3 separate regions of the Homo sapiens genome follow, and regions 2 and 3 are each linked to region 1. The links are contacts of gene promoters, found by promoter capture Hi-C in blood cells and fetal thymus (Javierre and others, 2016). All regions are on one chromosome and are shown on one strand. Each heading gives the region's core, a stretch centred on a gene start or on the middle of the fragment in contact. The rest is flanking DNA. Distances are from core to core; before and after follow the strand shown.

Region 1 (2,916 bases), core at 125-2,624:
ATAAAAGTGACAGTACTTTTAACAGAATATGGAAGAAGGAAATAAGGAAAAGAAGTAAATGATAAGAACACCGATATCCACATCTTCGAAGTGGGGAATCAACAGATACTGTCTGTACCTTATGGAACAAGAAATAAAGATTAAAGTATTTGCTTAAAGTTATTAAGGTAATCAAGAGAGAAGCTAAAAATAGGGATATAACTCTATGGCAGTGTAAGGGAACTTAATCCCCACCTCTCATAATGAAGCTCCACAGATGTTTAAAGTTGATTAAAAATAGCATGCAATTGTCTTTGAAAAAGAAAAAAAAGAGAGAAATATGGAGATAACCACTGAAAACTAAATTCCAAAATGGTTAAAATGATTACTTCTAGGGAGCAGGACTGGTGATAGAGAGGAATCGGATAGATAATATTGCTTTTCATTATTAACCTCTTCTAAATTATTGATTTTTTAAACTAATATTATGCAGTATATATGTGTGTGAGACAGTCAAAGAAAGAGGAGAACTATATTACAGAAAAAAGTTTAAAATTTCAAGATTGATAAATAATTGGCATAGGCAGGAAATTGTTGAGAGAATCTCTAAGCAAGGCATGCCGAATTTACTCAGGAACAGAATGCGAGATCTCTTTGCTGTGAAGAAACCTTGGGATACATACACTGGTAATCCAACTTCCTGAGCATATTGCAACCAATTTACAATTTATTGTCTCTAATTTAAGAAAGTTTGAAGTTTTTGCTAAATACTCGAATAAAAATATTTTTGAATTCCCAAGTATCTACATGTATACATGTATTTTAGAAGACATGTAAAACAATTCATCCATTTGCTAATTCATTTCCTCATTTGCCATTAAATGTTGCTCATCCATCAGTTTTCCTATAACAACCAACTTCCCCTAGGGAAACACAAGTCAATAATGATATATTTCTTCCTCCAGCACAGGACTGCTCTCTACTCTGATTAGTACCATAATAGAAAAAAAGCACATAATGTGACAAGTGAGGTAAGCATAGAAAAGAATTGCAGAAGAATTGTTTCTTACTTCTGGGGAAATCTATCTTCCAGAGGAGCACAATTATATGAGTGACCATGAACACCCCGCAAAAAAACTTTTAAATTCTATTCCAGTTTGTTTGGACATTCCAACCAATACAGACACAGTATAGGTATCAGCAGCAATCTATTTACATGTGAAGAAGAAAGGAAAAATGTTTTTGAAAAATACTTACCATTGTCAAATACTTACCACACATAACCAAAGTTAGCGACTATCAGTTAAGAGTAGATTGCAGGGGGAAATTTTTTTTTCAGTGTGGCTCCAAATGATTAAAATCCCCAGTCAGCTGTAACCAAGTGAAATGTAATGTCAGCCTAGTTCTAATTTTAGTTCATGGACAAAGCTGAGAATAGAAAGAATCACATGAGGCTTCTTTGCGACGGATCAGCTGATAATGTATGTGAGTGCGTTCTGTGGACTGCAAAATACGCTACAGACATTATAAAACTATCAGGCATAACTATTTCTAAGATCTTGAAAAATAATGCCTATTCAAAGTCCTTCTACTTTTCACAGCTTAATCATTTCACAGAATTTCATGCATCTATTCCATCCAAGCAGAGAAACTTGGAATATGTTGATGTATGCCACAACAAAAATTCTACCCAGTAAACCATGGATCTGCAAATATTTGAACTAAAGACCCAGATGCTTTAGAAAAAGAAAAAATAAAGGTGTGGATAAGCATGAGTAACACAGAAGCCCCAAACTTCTGCTGTACCTGGGCTTCAAATTAAATTACCTCTCACTTTGATCTCTTCAGCTTTCATAGATAGGACTTAATTCCAGGTTCTTAAAAAATAAACTATATCTTTTTTTGAATTTATAATATATGCACATGGAACAGAATTCAAAAGCTCAATCTCCACTCTCTCCATCCCCCACCCCTTCCACCATCCCTGCCTCCAGTAGGGAGGTTCTCTTCAAGTTCTCTTCTCTGAAGGCAACCACTATTGCCAGTTCTTTGTGTACCTTTACAAAGATGGTCTATGAATTTACGAGCTTAAATATGCCTATATCCCTTAAAAGCACACATATGTGAAGGCATGCACACATACAAAAATGGTAGCATACTATATACATTGTTCTATACTGTCTTTTCTTCACTCAGGATATCTTGGAAACTGTTTCATATTAGTATATTTAGAGCAGCGTCATTCTTTTTAATGGCTACATAGCAGTTTAGCGTGTAGGTGGATCATAATTTATGTAGTCATTTGGACATCTCAGCAATATTAATGCTTTAAAAATTTATGCCTGATTATCTCACAGAAATTCTCCAACACTTCTATAATGAATTAAGTTCTAAGAGTTGTGGGACTGCTCAAGATCACAGAAAGAGTAAAGAAGCCATGGCCACAATTGAAACTCTAACTTCCCTGTCCCGAGAGTGTACACCACCCAACACATACAGAGTGCTTGCATGTGTTCATAAGTAAAAATCAAGATCTCACACCTGTAATCCCAGCACTTTGAGAGGCCAAGATGGTAGGATCACTTGAGCCCAGGAGCTGGAGACCAGCCTGAGCAACAGAGTGAGACCCTGTATCTACCAAAAAAAAAAAAAAAAAAAAAAAATTAAAGTAGCCAGGCATGGTGGCCCTGTCTCCATAAAAATAAAAATAAATAAAATAAAATAAAACTAGCCAGGTGTAGTGGTGTGTATATGTAGTCTCAGCTACTTGGGAGACTGAGGTGGGAGGATACCTTGAGCCAGGGAGGTCAAGCTGTGATGGTGCCACTGCACTCCAGCCTGGGCAACAGAGCCTTCCTTGTCTGAAGAAAAAAAAAAAAAAAGAGAGAGAGAGAGAGAGAGATCCAGGGAGTTTTGTTTCAGTTAAAAAGAACAGTA
Region 2 (2,700 bases), core at 132-2,631, 280 kb after region 1:
CTCCCTCAAAAAAAGGAAGTGTCCACAAAAGTTATTGTTTATTTTTAACTAAAAAAATTTATATTTTAATTGATAAAAATTATATATTTATGGTGTACAACAACTTTTGAAATATGTATACATCGTAGAATGGTTAAGTCAAGTCTTACTTAAGTATTCACATATTTATCATTTTTTGTGGTGAGAAGACTTAAATTTTACTTTCTAAATGACTTTAAAGTATATAATACATTGTTATTATAGTCACTATGTTGTACAATAGATCTCTGGGACATACTCCTTTCTAACTGAAATTTTGTTTTCTTTGACCAATATCCTCCCAACACCCCCTCTTTTAGTTTCTTAATCTGTTAAATGGAATTAGCCATACTTAAGAGATGGTTTTGAGAATTTGAAATGATACGCAATTGTGACTTGTACATAGTAGGTGCTTAATAATAATTGCTTCTGGGGAGCATTGTACTACAAATTAAAACTATACATATGGCAAAAAAGCTTCAGCTGTAGTTGAAAACTGTTTGTCAAGTAGAGAATAAAGCTCAAGAGAGAATAAAGTCACCATTCTAGGTCTGTTATGCACATTTGATTACTTCAAGAATGCTTTTGTCTTGGGAGTGGGAAGAGTATGCTCCCAGGATTCGAATCTAGAGGTTGAGATTTTGAACTTTAATGATGTATTTTCAGTACTTACAGAAGTTTTCTTTTTAACCTCCTGTGGTGCTTACAGTTATGCAGATTGATGCTTGTAGGAGCTTGCTGTGACCTCTTCTCTCACACAACACACTTTCCTCCCAAGCTTTGTTGAGATTTATACACTTCATTGTTGAGAGTTTTGTATTTCTGGGTTGTGGAAGATGAAATGCATGCCTTTTGCTTACTGCTCCTTTGTTCCTTTAGGTTATCCTCTTCACGCCCCTGAAGCCTACTTTCCTTATTTCAAAAAGCATAATGTGACTGCAGTTGTGAGGCTAAACAAAAAGATTTATGAGGCAAAGCGCTTCACAGACGCTGGCTTCGAGCACTATGACCTCTTCTTCATAGATGGCAGCACACCCAGTGACAACATCGTGCGAAGGTTCCTGAACATCTGTGAGAACACCGAAGGGGCCATCGCCGTTCACTGCAAAGGTGTGTGCAAGGCCTCGGTGGTGGTGGCTGTGCTTATCGAAGGGGCGGGCCAAGGAAGAGCAAATAACATAAAACAAAACCTGTTTAGTGTCTTAGAAAAACAATGAGGTTTTAAATTTCAGACAACTGGGACACAAACTCATTTTAATAACCCCTTCTTAAAGAAACGATTGCTTGGGTGTGGACAATTGGTGGTGGTGTGGCTTTCTTGATATGCCAGTTTTTCAGACCTTACCTTTCCAGGCCCACGTGCCACAATGAGGGGAAACACAGTAGCAGTGTCTTTAGGCTGCAGGAACACCTTTAAACAGGTAAAATTCTCAAGAGACAAGGGTTGTTAGTTTTCCTCTCTCCTTTGTTTTTTTTCAGAATTGCCCATCTCTTCTCCATCCTCTTGCACTGTCGTGGTTCTGTTTTATGACCCAGTTATCTGGACCCCCATTCCAGTCTCTGCTTTTCCCTCCCCTCCTAGTCTTTGGCTTCATGGAGCAGAGCGTCTTCCATGCCTGTTGCTAGGGGCAATCCGCTAGCTTACAATGCTGCTGATGTGATGCTGCCTCATGGAATAAACTTAAAGAGTTTGTTTTGCAAAAATCTCTGATCTCTGGGGGTGGATACTTTGGGGCAGGAATTGTTCAGACTATAGAAGGTTTAGGATTGCCAGATTTAGCAAATAAAAATACAGGCTGCCTAATTAAATTTGAAAGTTAGATAAACAATGAATACTTTTAAAACAAAAAGTATAAATATGTCCCAAATATTGCAGGGAACATGCATTCTGTATTTTATCTGGCAACCCCATGTCAGCTACTCAGAAAATATGACATGCCATTTGCTCTAAGCTTGTTTGACTTCGAGGAGGCTTAAAATCCACTCCATTCCAGATCTTTCGGTATGGATAATACTGGAAATATTCCAGATATTTTACTGGGTCTTTGATTTCAGCGAGGAGAAATCACTAGGGCCGCCCTGGGCTGGAGCCTCGAGTTCCTCATGTGCAGCTCCTCCTAGTGTCGCTGGGTGGTGCTGTGCTTATGGTTTTGGGTCTAGACCCGGTTTCCCTCTCATTTTATGCTAATCATCTAGTAGGTGTTGGGGAGGGTGCTGTTCTTTTCATGTGCCTAGTGCTGCTGTAACTGACTTATTCAGACGAGTATGGCTTTGGTTCTGACAGAAATTAAAATGCCGTTTTGTAGGCCCTTGTTTCTATGTTTAAGATTTGAGTAGGTGGAGGTACTTTGTGAACATGTGAGCAAAAATGGGAAGCTGCGGTTTCCCAGAGACCCAGAGAGATGGAAATGAGCAGCACGTGGCCTGGGTTTGGAGCAGGGCTCCCCATGCCAGGCTCCCTCCTCCTGGGTGGGCAGAGCTCTCCCTCCCCACCCTCCCCATTAGCTAGCAGGATGGGCCCTGGCTTTGTGGGATATCTTGTCTCTGGCGTGGAGTCTGTTAGGAAGGTGTCACTTGCTGGCTCATTTGTGGGTGCTGCTTTCAGGCCACAGTGGGGTGCCAGTGTGTTGGCTTGTCCCCATGTGATTCATTTGCACCCTGTTTGCTTTTCCATTGCATTTT
Region 3 (2,700 bases), core at 156-2,655, 340 kb before region 1:
CTCAACATGGAGAAACCCCGTCTCTACTAAAAATACAAAATTAGCCGGGCATGGTGGTGCATGCCTGTAATCCCAGCTACTCGGGAGGCTGAGGCAGGAGAATTGCTTGAACCTGGGAGGCGGAAGTTGCGGTGAGCCAAGATCGCGCCATTGCACTCCAGCCTGGGCAACAAGAGCGAAACTCCGTCTCAAAAAAAAAAAAAAGAAGAAGAAGTGGATAATACATGAGTCTATATAGCTTTGGAAAAAGAAAGCAATCAATTATGACATGGAGTACATGAGAGAGTACAGTCCTTTCTTAATACCAAACTCTAAACCTTTCAATTCAACAATAGTTTGTCAAATGTCATAACTGCTCACTTTTGCACTATTTGTAGAACTTGAATGTTTTCATATTTATACTTCACAGTAAATTAACTATATGGAAGTTACTGATTTTGATGTATTCTCTCTTGGGGAAAGGACAGGGAAGAAAGGGCAAGAGACACACTGTTCTTGGATTCCTTCTCAAGATGTTATTGAGTGTTTTCTATACAACAGGCAATGTTTTAGGTGCTGGGGATTCCGGAGAAAAGATATTTTCTCCTCTCAATAAGCTCACCCTCTAGTAGGACAGACATTTAATTGTTAGGTCAGGATACCTGATGCATTCTTAGGAATTTTGCCACTCTGAGAGCTTTGTTTTGACAGGTTTGTTTTCCACCCTTCTGAGCTGGGCAAAGGACACACAAAATCAGCTGTCAAATCAATTCCTATTCAAAACTGAGGAAAAAAAAAAAACTAACCAAAGTTAAAGCTTTTGAAAAGACAGTAAATGCATCATGGTTAGCACTATGCTAACCATAAATTTACCATGCTGCTATAAGATATAGCAAAATCAAGCCCTTTCCTGTGATACTTCAAAAAGGAAAAGAAAATATGTATTCTTTAAAAAATAAAGAGGCCAGGCACTGTAGCTCACACCTGTATTCCCAGCACTTTGGGAGGCCGAGGCAGGCGGATCATTTGAGGTCAGGAGTTCAAGACCAACCTGGCCAACATGGTGAAACCCTGTCTCTACTAAAAATACAAAAATTAGCCAGGTGTGGTGGCACACACCTGTAGTCCCAGCTACTTAGGAGGCTGAGGCAGGAGAATCACTTGAACCCGGGAGGCAGAGGTCGCAGTGAGCCAAGATCACGCCACTGCACTCCAGCCTGGGCAACAGAGTGAGAACTCTGTCTCAAAAAAAAAAAAAAAAAATTAAACATAAAAAATAAAGAATCATCTCAATTGATGCAGAAAAAGCTTTTGACAAAATTCAACATCATTTCATGATACAAACACTCAGCAAACTAGAAGAAAACTACCTCAACCTAATAAAAGCCATATGTAAAAAAATCTACAGCAAACATCATACTCAACAGTGAAAGACTGAAAACTTTTCTTCTAAGGTCAGGAACAAAGCAAGGATAACCACTTCCACCACTTCTATTCAACATATTGAAAGTCCTAGACAGAACAATTGATCAAGACAAATAAATGAAAGCTTCATCCAAATTGAAAAGGAACAAGTAAAATTATCTCTGTTCACAGATGTGATATGTAGGAAACTAAGATACCACACACACACACACACACACACACACACACACACACAGTTAGAATAAATGAATTCAGCAAAGCAGCAGGATACAAAGTCAATGCACAGAAATCAATTGCATTTTGATACACTAACAATGAGTAATCTGAAAGGAAATTAAGAAAACAATTCTATTTAAAATAGCATTTAAAAACTTAGGAATTCACAAACCAAAAGGAGACCTGTACACTGAAAACTATAAAACATTGCTAAAAGAAATTAAGAAAGACATAAATAAATGGAAAACCATCCCATGGTTCATGGATTAGAAGATTAATATTGTCAAAATGTCAGTACTACCCAAAGTGATCTACAGATTGACTTTTTTTTTACAGAAATAGAAAAATTAGTTTTAATATTCATGTGGAATCTTAAGGGACCCTGAACAGCTAAAACAATCTTGAAAAAGAAGAACAACATTGGAGGACTCACATTTCCTGATTTTAAAACTTACTACAAAACTTTGGTAATTGAAACAGTGTGGTACTGGCATAAAGACAGATATATAGATAGACAAATGAAATAGAATAGAGAGCCCAGAAATAAACCCCAGTATATATAGTCAAATGTTTTCCAACAACAGTACTAAGACCATTCAGTGGGGAAAGGACAGTCTTTTCAACAAATAGTGCTGGGAAAACTGAATAGCCACATGCAAAATAATGAAAATGGACTGTTAACCTAACCCCATATACAAAAATTAATTCAAAATGAATCATAGACCTAACAAAAGAGCTAAAACTATATAATTCTTAGAAGAAAATATAGGGCAAAACTTCATGATATTGAATTTGGCAATGAATATGACACCAAAGACACAGGCAAAAAGCAAATAGATTAATTGGATTTCATTAAAATGTAAAACTTTTGTGCTTCAAAGGACACTATCAATAGCATGAAAAGACAGCCTACAGAATGGGGGAAAATATTTTAAAATCATACATCTGATAAGGGATTAATATCTAGAATATGTAATGAACTAATCTAAAACTCAACAACAACAACAAAAATTCAAAAGTAGGCAGAGGACTTAAATAGACATGTCTCCAAAAGATTTACAAATGGCCAGTAAGCACATA

Evidence for each region. Contacts are between HindIII fragments. The CHiCAGO score rates a contact against its expected background, and 5 or more counts as called.
Region 2: a contact is called between a fragment that was not itself captured here and the fragment with the promoter of LRRC39 in region 1, in 1 of 17 cell types (activated CD4 T cells). The highest score is 5.8, in activated CD4 T cells.
Region 3: a fragment that was not itself captured here is called in contact with the fragment with the promoter of LRRC39 in region 1 in 1 of 17 cell types (M1 macrophages); the score reaches 6.1 in M1 macrophages.

Annotation. Positions count from the first base shown.
Region 1 is chr1:100,176,882-100,179,797 of GRCh38, forward strand. LRRC39 (leucine rich repeat containing 39) reads right to left here and starts at 1,375. Exons shown (of 10, transcript NM_144620.4): 1 at 1,254-1,375. The HindIII fragment of the contact is 12,638 bases long and covers 1-2,916 here.
Region 2 is chr1:100,461,754-100,464,453 of GRCh38, forward strand. It overlaps CDC14A (cell division cycle 14A), which reads left to right. Exons shown (of 16, transcript NM_003672.4): 9 at 898-1,128. Among named protein-coding and RNA genes, the nearest start is that of GPR88, 75 kb to the right of the region's middle. RefSeq lists enhancers at 395-1,016, 2,295-2,384. The HindIII fragment of the contact is 1,174 bases long and covers 795-1,968 here.
Region 3 is chr1:99,837,345-99,840,044 of GRCh38, forward strand. No RefSeq gene overlaps it. Among named protein-coding and RNA genes, the nearest start is that of AGL, 12 kb to the right of the region's middle. The HindIII fragment of the contact is 241 bases long and covers 1,286-1,526 here.